2 separate regions of the Homo sapiens genome follow, and region 1 is linked to region 2. The links are contacts of gene promoters, found by promoter capture Hi-C in human tissues and cell types (Jung and others, 2019). All regions are on one chromosome and are shown on one strand. The core of a region is centred on a gene start or on the middle of the fragment in contact, and the rest is flanking DNA. Distances in the headings are between cores, read along the strand shown. Region 1 overlaps HERC1 (HECT and RLD domain containing E3 ubiquitin protein ligase family member 1). Region 2 holds the start of SNX22 (sorting nexin 22).

Region 1 (5,179 bases), core at 1,097-3,596, 350 kb after region 2:
CTTAAGTATCAGAACTGAACTGAGGAAAGAGATAGGCAGAAGAGGGTGTCTCTGCTAAGCTACAGAGTTTATAATTTTGTTGAACAACTCCGTGTCATTGACTGATTTGAAGTTAACTTGTCTGAAAATTAAATGTGCAAGTATGACCTAGTTCTGAAACGTATCTTAAAAAGTAAGCCCAGAGATGACGCTTTAAAAAAGTCAACTTCTTTTTTAAAAAAGAAATTATTTGTGCCCTTTTTGCTTTGAGTTTGGAATTGGGACACCCCCAAACCTGATGGTAAAATATCTTATTTATAAATCCACTGAAGTAAGAAATAGTATGCAACCACTAAATGCTTAGGGCGTATAAAAAACTGACCTTAATATACCTATGAGTTACCATTTTGGTAGCCAAAAATATTTAAATGTAGAAACTAGTAGTAATTAATTAGTTAATTTAACAAACACTATGATGGTCTAGGTTGTATGGCAGAGAATTAAAATAAGGTGGAATCCATTCCTCACAGTGAGGAGTGAGTGCATTATCTGTTAGGGGAGTGACAATCCTAAATAATTGTAGGTCAAAGTGAGAGGTATCCTGTTAGAGAATTAGAAAGCACTAGTTTTCAAGTTCTGAAAAGCCCTGTAAGGTTTTTTTTTTTTTTTTGTAAAGTTTGAAGATATGAAGAGGAAGGACTTTAGTAAGTGAAGGAGAAGAGGATAGAAGCAGTGGTTTGAAGGCTTGGAATGACTTGGTGGTTTTAAGAACTTGTAAGATTTTCTTAAGTGTCTGTTACGTAGGTGGGAGAGGGTAGAAGAAAATTACCTGGAAAACACTTTAATTCCTGATTGTAAAGAGGCAGTTGTTGGTTAAAAGTAATTAGTCTTTAACTGGTTAAGCACTGAGTAGTCATTTGGGGTTTTCACTAAGGGAGTAACATCAGATTTTGGTTTGTAGAAAGATGGAGGATACACTAGAACTGGGGAGAACCTGCTATCAGGGAGCTGAATAAGGAAGCTACAGCAAGGAGAGAATTTTCAGTTAAATTTTATCCTAAAGCACTGATTCTGGGGTTGAAGGGAGAAGTAGCAGGTGGTAGTGTCACACTTCTCTAAAATAAGTGCTTTAGTGAGGTTGGGTGGGGCTGGGGACTTGGACATGTGTGTTTTGACAAGTTCTAACACTTGATTCTCATTCACATCCACTCAACATTTAGAGTTAATTTTTCCAGGGAGTGATATTATGGGGCAGTGAAAATAGCACTGGACTTCAGAATCTGGGGACTTATATTCACATCCTGACTCTGCCATTCACCTTGCATGTAATCTTGTTGTACTGTTTAATTTTTTGAAAATTGTTTTATGTTATTAATAACTATCTTACGGATTTTTGTGATAATTCAGTTGAAGTTCTGAAATCTCATAGGTATACAGTAAACATTTTGTAATCTCCTGACAGGTTTTCCCTGCCTGCTGCGCAGACAAAATCAATTAACAGAGACCACTACATTGCAGTAAAGGAAGAGTTTAATTGACAGGAGGCTGGCCATGCCATGCATGAGACAGAGTTATTATTCAAATTGATGTATTTCCCCAAAGGCTTGGAGTTTAGGGTTTTCAAGGATAGTTTGATGGGTGGGGGACTAGGGAATGGGGAATGTTGATTGGTCAGGGAAAAAAAAATGATTGGAGTGTGAAAAACAGTCCTGGTGTGATGAGTCTGCCTCTGCATAGGGCCACAGGATGTTAAGTCTTGAGGCAGGAGTCCAGGTGGGGTCATTCTGAAAGATAACACAAAAAAACCAATCTTAGATTCTATTATAATGATTTTCTCTATAAGAGTAATTGAGGAAGTGACAAATATTGTGACCCTTGGCCACATGACTCCTGAACAGTAAGGAATGATAGAAGAAGCTATACTTGTCTTGTGACCTCTAGCCATATGACTCCTGAGCAGTAAGGGATGATAGAAACTATGCCTACACCTTAGCAGAATTCAGGCCCCTCTCATAATCCTAACCTTGTGGCCTTTCATTAGTTTTATGAAGGTGGTTTAGTTTTGGGAAAGGTTATTATCATCCTTGCTTTAAGGTCAAACTATAAATTTCTCTGAAAATCAGCTTGGTCTTGTAAACTAAAAATAAAATTCTAAGCTCTCTAACCATCTGAATGGCCCCCTCCTCTCAGCAAGCATTCCAAAGTTAACCTGATAAACTAGTTCCGGCCATGATGGAAAGGGGGAGCCAGATATGCCTCATAATACCCTCCTCTCTTTTGGAATTACTGATAGAACAAGACTCTTTAAGTCTGATAAGAAACATTTACAATCTGTTCTCTGAAGCCTGTTACCTGGAGGCCTCATCTGCATGATAAAACCTTGGTCTCCATAACCCTTTATTGTAACACAGACATTTCTTTCTTTAGATAATAATTCTTTCAACCAATTGCCAATCTGAAAACCTTTCAATGTATCTATGACCTGAAAGCTTCTGCTTCAAGTTGTCCAGCCTTTCTGGACTGAATCAATGGACATTTTACAAGTATTGATTGATATCCCATGTCTCCCTAAAATGTATAAAATCAAGCTGTCCCTGACCACCTTGGGTACATGTCATCAGGACCTCCTGAGTCTGTATCACAGGCATGTCCTTAACCTTGGCAAAATAAACTTTCTAAATTGATTGAGACCTAACTCAGCTATTTTTGGTTTACAGTCTACACCCCGGAATGATCGATGATGGAGGTTAGAAGCGAAATGGACTTAACTGTGTCAAATTTCTCTTACTGTCATAATTTTGCAAAGATGGTTTCAGTTTTGTGAGTTTAAGTTTTAATTTAGAATTTACATTAGAAACTACTGAATTTAGTCACATTTCAGTAGTACCCTTATCCACATATTAAATGAAATAGAAACTTATTAAAAGTTGCAGAAGATGTAACTGTTGGAAAATATGTTGGCATATGGACTTAAGGGATGATACCCTTTAGTAGTGGACTAAATTTAGTTTAAAAAATATAATTAATTTATTCTACTTGTAAAAAATAAAGGTTCCTCTTCAAAGATTTTCCTCCCTATTTAACTAGGAATAAATAGTAACTTCTCTTAGAAGCAAAATTTATTTAAAGACCTGTGCTAACATTCTTAAAAATCTGCTAGCTGTGATAAAGAAATCAATGTACTTTATGTTCTTAGCTCCCACAATTTAGCCTAAATATTTGCCCTGGCATGCTTATACTGGTTCAAGCAAGCATTAGGTCGTAGCCTGTTCCTCTTCCTTATTTAAAGGTATTTTTACCTTTCTCAGCATTCCACAAGTTAACTTCCTGCTTCCTTGATTCTCCTCTGCCTTTGCCTCTTTTAAAAAGTTCTGAGTTGCTAGCCAGTCGGGACAAATACAGAATGTCAGGTCCCGTTCCAGCCAGTGGAAACTGGACACAGCAGTAGGGTGGACGCGTGAGATTATAAATGACCCTGTCTCTTTTGTTCGGTGTACTCTCGTGGCAGAACTGCTGGCGAGTATACCCTTTCTGCAGAAAGTATAAAAATGGCCTTGCTGAGTAAATTAAATTTATGTTCAAGTGCTATTTCTTTGTGGCACCAGGGAACAAGCATTTCAAACATACTGCTGGTTCAAATGGGCAAACATGAAATATCTTCAGAGTAATTCAAAATAGGAACCTTTTGTATCAGAGCTTTTCTATTTGATTGAAAATAAAATCAAGCCACTTAAAATTCCAATTAAATGTTAATTTTCTTATATTAAACTGATATTTTTTCCTCTCAATTTTATCTCTACTTCTGCAATCTTAGGTGCTATCAACATCTCTCATACACATTTCTGAAATCTGTTTTTATTGGTTATTTTATTTTAAAATTATCACTACTCTTTATCTACTTTGAACTTCTTTTTCCAAAATGATAAATGCAAGCAGAATATTTTAATAAAACCATTGAAAAAGGCAAGCTTTAGTAACTAAGACAATTGACCCAGTTTTTCCTTCCTCAGAATTTTAAGATCTTTAAAGCAGAAACTTGTGCTTTAAAACTGTATTGATACATTTAAAAATGATATAATTTGTATGTCATTTAAATGTTCAAGTAGGAAAAAGGATGATTATTCCTTTACTTTTTTTTTTTTTTTTTTTTTTGAGACAGAGTCTTGCTCTGTTGCCCGGGCTGGAATGCAGTGGCACAATCTTGGCTAACTGCAACCCCCGCCTCCCAGGTTCAAACAATTCTCCTGCCTCAGCAGCCTGAGTAGCTGGGACTACAGGTACACACCACCACGCCTGGCTAATTTTTGTATTTTTAGTAGAGATAGAATTTTGCCATTTTGGCTAGGATGGACTTGAACTCCTGACCTCAGGTGATCCGCCCACCTCGGCCTCCCAAAGTGCTGGGATTTTAGGTGTGAGCCACTGAACCCTTTACGTGTTTTTCTTAAACTGCTGGGTATGGGGAGTGGGAAAGTAGGGATCTTAGCTGTTCTAAGATGAAAGAGTGGCATCTCCTGCTAGAGTCCCAGTTGTAATGGGTGGTAGGTGAGATATTGTAAAATATATATTTGGTCTTCCTCATGTCTCCTGGAATATAACTCCTAAAATCTTTGGAATCTCCAAAGTGATCTGTGTCTTTTTGTGTGCTAATGAATTTGCTGATGCCTGGTCACCTCTGGTTAGCTTCAGGATTGGGGCTGGTCACTGGAAAGACTGAGCCATGATTAGAGGGTTAGTACTTTCAGCCCCATCCCCAACCTCTGGGAAGGGGAGGAAAGAAGGGCCAAAGATTGAGTTGATCACTCAGTGATTCAACCAGTAATAGCTAGTAATGAAGCTTCCATAGAACCACAAAAAGACTGGGTTCAGGTGTTACAGGAAAGGGGTTCTGATCCAGACCCCAGGAGAGGGTTCTTGGATCTCACGCAAGAAAGAATTCAGGGCGAGTCTATAGAGTAAAGTGAAAGCAAGTTTATTAAGAAAGTAAAGGAATGAAAGAATGGCTACTCCATAGACAGAACAGCCCCAAGGGCTGCTGGTTGCTCATTTTTATGGTTATATGTTGATGATATGCTAAACAAGGGGTGGATTATTCATGCCTCCCCTTTTTAGACCATATAGGGTGACTTCCTGACAGTGCCATGGGATTTGTAAACTGTCATGGCGCTGATGGGAGTGTAGCAGTGAGGACAACCAGAGG
Region 2 (5,424 bases), core at 2,185-4,684:
GTGGTGAAACCCATCTCTATTAAAAATACAAAAATTAGCCGGGCATGGTGGCGGATGCCTGTAATCCCAGCTACTCGAGAGGCTGAGGCAGGAGAATTGCTTGAACCCGGGAAGCGGGGGTTGCCGTGAGCCGAGATCGTGCCATTGCATTCCAGCCTGGGCAACAAGAGTGAAACTCCGTCTCAAAAAAAAAAAAAAAAAAAAAAAAGAGATTCTCCTACCTCAGCTTCCCGAGTAGCTGGGATTACAGGCATGCACCACCACAATGCCCGGCTAATTTTGTATTTTTAGTAGAGACGGGGTTTCTCCATGGTGGTCAGGCTGGTCTCGAACTCCTGACTTCAGGTGATCCACCCATCTTGGCCTCCCAAAGTGCTGGGATTACAGGCATGAGCCACCGCGCCTGGCTGACTTCCTCTTTTATTACTTATCTTCTTGACCCTGCCTTGGCTGTTGGGCTCTAAGAGCATACAAATTCTACCACCTCCAGCTACCAATGCGAGCCAAGTTCTGAGCCTTGAGTGGGAATGTGGCACAACTGGGCACTGGGTAATTAAGTCCTGGGTCCAGGCCAAAGGAGGACCCAGCCTTATATGGAGTTCATAGGACAGAGGCACATGACTTTCTTAGGAGGCAGCCAAAGGCCTCTGGACTGATCAGGGCATCGGTGGCAGAGGAGCAGGGTGACAGGCCGCCTTTGGCTGGGCTTTATCTGGGCTGATGCTGAAGCTGTAGAGGCCCTGGAGCACACCATTCACCACCACGTTGGGCAGCGACTCTGTGGGATAGAATTAAACAGGTCTGGCCTCAGACCTGCAGCTCCTTGAGCTCCTGCTCATGGGCTCAGCCCCCACTTGGGAGTAGGAGCCCCTGCCAAGGCAGCAGACAGCAGCTGTCCACCCCAAATGAAGCCTCCGCATTCCCAGGTCACATTCTTTTCACATCAGCTTGGTAAAGAAGTCAGGCTGCTGAAGAAATGGAGACCAGGGAAGCCAAACTTGTTTTCCTTGTGTCTACAAAGCAGGCTCCAGGGGACAGGAGCAGGAGGTAGTGGCTCCAGAGGTGGGCAGCAGGAAGGAGATGCTGTCTGAGGGTCCCAGGAGCCGAGAAATGCAAAGCCCACAACCCAGCCCTGTAGCCCCATATCTAGGCACCTCCTCACCTGGGGAGGGGTTGCAAACATAGGGATCCACATGGAAGCTCAGGACAGGCCGCTGGTGCTGCTGGGAGCTGGGAGGAAACAGGGTCATGAACCATGGGTGCGGGAGGCAGGGCAGAATCCCACAGAGGGGTGGAGACGGGGTTGCCATCACCAGGGACCCATGAAGGAAAAGGTGAGTGGGAAATGGGCTCAGGAGGCACCAAAGGGAAAACAGACTTCAGGGCCCAGGCCAGACAGGCCCAGGCAGCAGGCCTGCCTCCTAGCATATGGCCACTAGGGGGCAGCAGGGGCCAAGCGCGGGCTAGGGCTTTGACTTGCCTGCTGTCGCCAGGCAGGAACTCCCTCAGGGTGCTGAAGAGAAGAGAAACACTGTAAGCTGCCTGGGGATGCCGGGGGAGCGTGAGGAAGGGGTGGAGACACCAGAGCCCAGAACTGCACCTCCCAGGGGACCACTGCTTCTATTTGTAACAAGCCCCAGTTCCGGAGGTGGCGGGGGTAACCAAGTCTGTCCAAAAAAAAGCCCCTCCACCCAGGTCAAGAGAGCTGGTGAGGGCGGTCATGCTGGATCCTGGCAGATGTGAAAAGAAAGGGCTTGCCCTCCAACACCTTTCCTCACCTGCTCACTGCTGACAGCCCCTGGCCCCCGCCATCGGCCCCCCTTACCCCCAGTTGCTAGCCTTGGGGTCTGTGGGGAAGTGCCGAAGTCTCAGGAATTCCAGTAACTCCTTGGGCACCTCCTGGTTCAGGTACAGGATGCCCTGGAGAGGACAGAGGAGACCTGCAATCAGACCCAGCTACTAATTTGCATAGCGCAGTGCCAGTGAAAATGCAGGGCTCTTTGTTCCAAAAAAAGAATTTCACGACAATGACAGCAGAGCGTTGAACCAGGCTCAGGGCCCTTCTGGGCGCTGGGCGCTGTGTGCACAGGTTGTACCCCATGACGCGGCATAGCTTTGCTGTTGGGGGAAGGACCCTCACCCTACATGCCATCAGGAGGGCAGCACAGGACCTCACCATGGAGGGGACAGGACCTGGGTTTCATGGAGCTGGGACTACCTGTGTCCGTTACCTCTTTCAGTCCTTTCAACAAGCCAGAGGGGGGTGTTTGGACCTATATTAGACTCAGAAAATTGATGCTTGAGGTGGTGAATAACATCCCCAAGTTGTGGGTTCCCTCCCTGCCATGCCCCCACACCTCTCTGTCTGGGCCACACCCCTGGCACAGAAGGCCGGGGGGCAACCAACTGTGCTCTCGCATACCTGGATGTAAGCCTCCAAGCCCTGCCGGCGCTGTTCCAACCCTCTGGTCCTCCAGTTGGGCAGGCGTTTCGAGGGGAAGTCGGGCACTTTGTACAGCTTCTTGATCTACTGGAGGTTTACCGCGTGCGATCACAGCATCCCGACTGAGCCCTCAAGCCCTCTTCGCCCCAGCCAGAAGCCCTCCCGCGCCCCCGCCTTCGGGCTCTACTGGGACAGACCCTGGTGAGTGGTGGACCGGCCGAGGGCGAGGAAGGCCCCAACCCACCCACAGAGGCCCGGGGGCTGACCGGCTGCGCAGGGACTGAGGCAGTAATGGGGGTGGCGGAGGCTGGGGCTCGCCCGCCCGCCTCACAGGGCCTGGGCGGGGGCTGGACAGAGGCTGGGCCGGGGCCGGTGGGAGGTCGGCGCCGCCTCACCCGCTTGTGCAGCGCGTGGAACTCGCTGTAGCGCCTTGGCACCGTGTGTCTGCGCCCGCTGCACAGCACCTCCACTCGGAACACCTGGCGGCGCGGGCGGGCAGCGGGTCTGCGCGTGAGGCCCCGCGGGAGGACGCCGCAGCACCTGCGCCTGGCGACGTGCCCACCCTCCCGCTCTCAAAGGCACAAAGCGGCCTTGCGGCGCCGCGGCTGCCCGGGGACTCTCCGCTCCCGCACACCTGGGAGAACCGGCTGGCGGACCTGCCCCTCGGAGCCCTGGGGTCCCTCAAGAGCTCGAACCATGGTCCGCGAGGCTGGCAAATCCAAGCGGCCCCCAAACCCTCGACAAGGTTTCCCCCGACGGTCCAGCCCGCAGCGCTCGTTCACCCAGGCCCGGGCCCCGGGTCCCCACTGAGCGCAGCGCGGGGAAATCCTGCGGGTCCCGGCGCCCCTCCCCATCCAGGGGCCGCGCTCACCATGTGGCTTTTCTCCGGGCTCTGCCTGGGCCCCTCGGCCTCGGGCCCCACCGACGGGATGTGAACTTCCAGCATCCGCGCCCCGGCCCCAGCTGCTCCGCGCGCTCGGCTCGGAGCCCTAACTCTCCCGGAGCGGACTGAGGACCCCGGGGCGGCCGGCTCCGCCCCCTCGGTCCGCAGGCCCCACCCCAGGCCCCGCCCCCAGGCGACCCCGCCCCGGGCGTTCCCTTGCGCCGCGGGTCCTGAGCCTAGAAGATTAGGCGGGACCTGGACGCCGCCCCCGAAGTCTAGTGCGCCCACAGCGCGGGGCAGTGGAGTCAACCGTTTGTCAAACATTGACGGAGCACTCACTGATGCCAGGAACTGGCGAGCGAAAATGTCACCCAACCTGAGTTAAGCGCCTACCAAGGACGGCCTGTGGCTCCAGGCGCGGACGGAGGCGGGGCCCGGGCCTCAGCGCCGGTCCTGGGGCCAACCAGGGACCTGTCTTGGGTTCCTCAGTCCCTTCCCGAGCCTTTCCCTCCTTTCAGCCTGGTCCCTGAAATTGTGATCTGGATTCCCCGGCTGAGGCCACACCTGAGCAAGGCTTGGACCCAGTCCAGCTTTGATGCCCCTTTCCCCAGCATCCACAGGCCCCCCCATTCATTCATTGTTTTCATCCATCCATTCACTCATATCTTCCAACCCTAAGGGGCTCCAGGCTGTTTGTGGGGAAGAGGCAGTTTAGGGACCTAGACTCCGATTTGGACGTCAGACTGCCTGGATTTCAGGAGCTCCGTAGACCTTTGCTCATCTGCAAAATAGGGATAACGTGGCTCCTTCAGGCAAGTGTATAAAGTGAGATGATTTGGCCGGGCGCGGTGGCTCACGCCTGTAATCCCAGCACTTTGGGAGGCCGAGGTAGGCGGATCACCTGAGGTCAGGAGTTCGAGACCAGCCTGACCAACATGGTGAAACCCCGTACCTACTAAAAATACAAAAATCAACCAGGTGTGGTGGCACATGCCTGTAATCCCAGCTACTCAGGAGGCTGAGGCGGGAGAATCACTTGAACCTGAGAGGCGGAGGTTGCAGTGAGCCGAGATCAAACCATTGCACTCCAGACTGGGCAACAGCAAGACTCTGTCTTAAAAAAAAAAAAAAGTGAGATGATTCATGTTAGGCCCTTAACAGAAGCATTGAGCAGCAGCTTGACTGTGGGCTTCTCCTGGATGACTAGGATAAGTGGGCACAGGGCAGTGGATGGGAAGAGAGACTTTGGGGGGTGGCACCGGGTTGCTCTTGTCCACCCCTCCGGGCAGGTTCTTCCTGGATATGTGGCAGGATTTTGATCCAGAACTCTCTCAGGCCATGTGCTGGAAAGGACCTCTGCTCCCACCTCTCAGCCCTGCACCCTTCAGCTGTCGGAGAGCTGCTATCAGCAGCACCATGGCAGGTCCTCTACTCCACTGACTTCCCCCACAAAGGCCCCGTGACATGCAGAGAGGCGAGGCCCTGCCTTCCAAAGCTCATACGTAGTGGGAGGTCTTGGGGTGGGCAGGAGGAAGCAGAGTGCCTGTCTTCGGGGCTGGGGTTGAGGGGACTCACCCCTCCCCTGCTTCTGCAGAGACGCCTCTGAGCTGGAGCAAAAAACCTCCATCCCCAGCCCTGCCCCCAGAGAAGGGCTGAGATGACGACCCCAAAATGGGGCAAACAGGTCTCACCAATATCATGTCCCACATTCTCTTTTTCCAAATTGCATCACACAAGGACCACAGAATCAGGAAGCTGAAACTTCCCAGATTCTAGTGGGGTCCCCTAGAAGAAAAGCAGCCCAGAGTGAGGAGAAGTGCTGTGCTTTCATTTCCTCCCTACGGCCCCATCATTCAGGGACCCAGCTTTCCCTGGCCTACAGGGCCTCCCCAACTCCCACTGTCCAGGGAGGCCTCTCCTGGGATCCTCAGACTTCTTGGTCCTCATCCTAATGACTGTCTGCCCCTCTGTCTGTGAGTCTCCATTTTTTCCTGCCTTCATCCCCAATAGAACGTCCATTCTCTACCCTGCAGCACAAACTGTTATCAAGGCATGTGCTTAAAACCTTCCAATGTTTCCCACTGCACTTAGAATAAAA

Evidence for each region. Contacts are between HindIII fragments. The study calls those that stand out against the background at their distance.
Region 1: a contact is called between a fragment that was not itself captured here and the fragment with the promoter of SNX22 in region 2, in 1 of the 25 tissues and cell types used here (lymphoblastoid cells).

The regions. Positions count from the first base shown.
Region 1 is chr15:63,794,018-63,799,196 of GRCh38, reverse strand. The region is part of intron 1 of HERC1 (HECT and RLD domain containing E3 ubiquitin protein ligase family member 1); the gene reads left to right. Among named protein-coding and RNA genes, the nearest start is that of HERC1, 37 kb to the left of the region's middle. The HindIII fragment of the contact is 4,073 bases long and covers 310-4,382 here.
Region 2 is chr15:64,149,741-64,155,164 of GRCh38, reverse strand. It overlaps SNX22 (sorting nexin 22), which reads right to left and starts at 3,434. Exons shown (of 7, transcript NM_024798.3): 1 at 3,315-3,434; 2 at 2,839-2,922; 3 at 2,423-2,527; 4 at 1,826-1,920; 5 at 1,481-1,513; 6 at 1,163-1,230; 7 at 1-778. The coding sequence starts at 3,389. The coding sequence ends at 657. RefSeq lists enhancers at 719-878, 889-1,008, 754-1,485, 1,509-1,738, 4,666-4,775 and silencers at 2,729-3,108, 3,309-3,748. The HindIII fragment of the contact is 9,247 bases long and covers 890-5,424 here.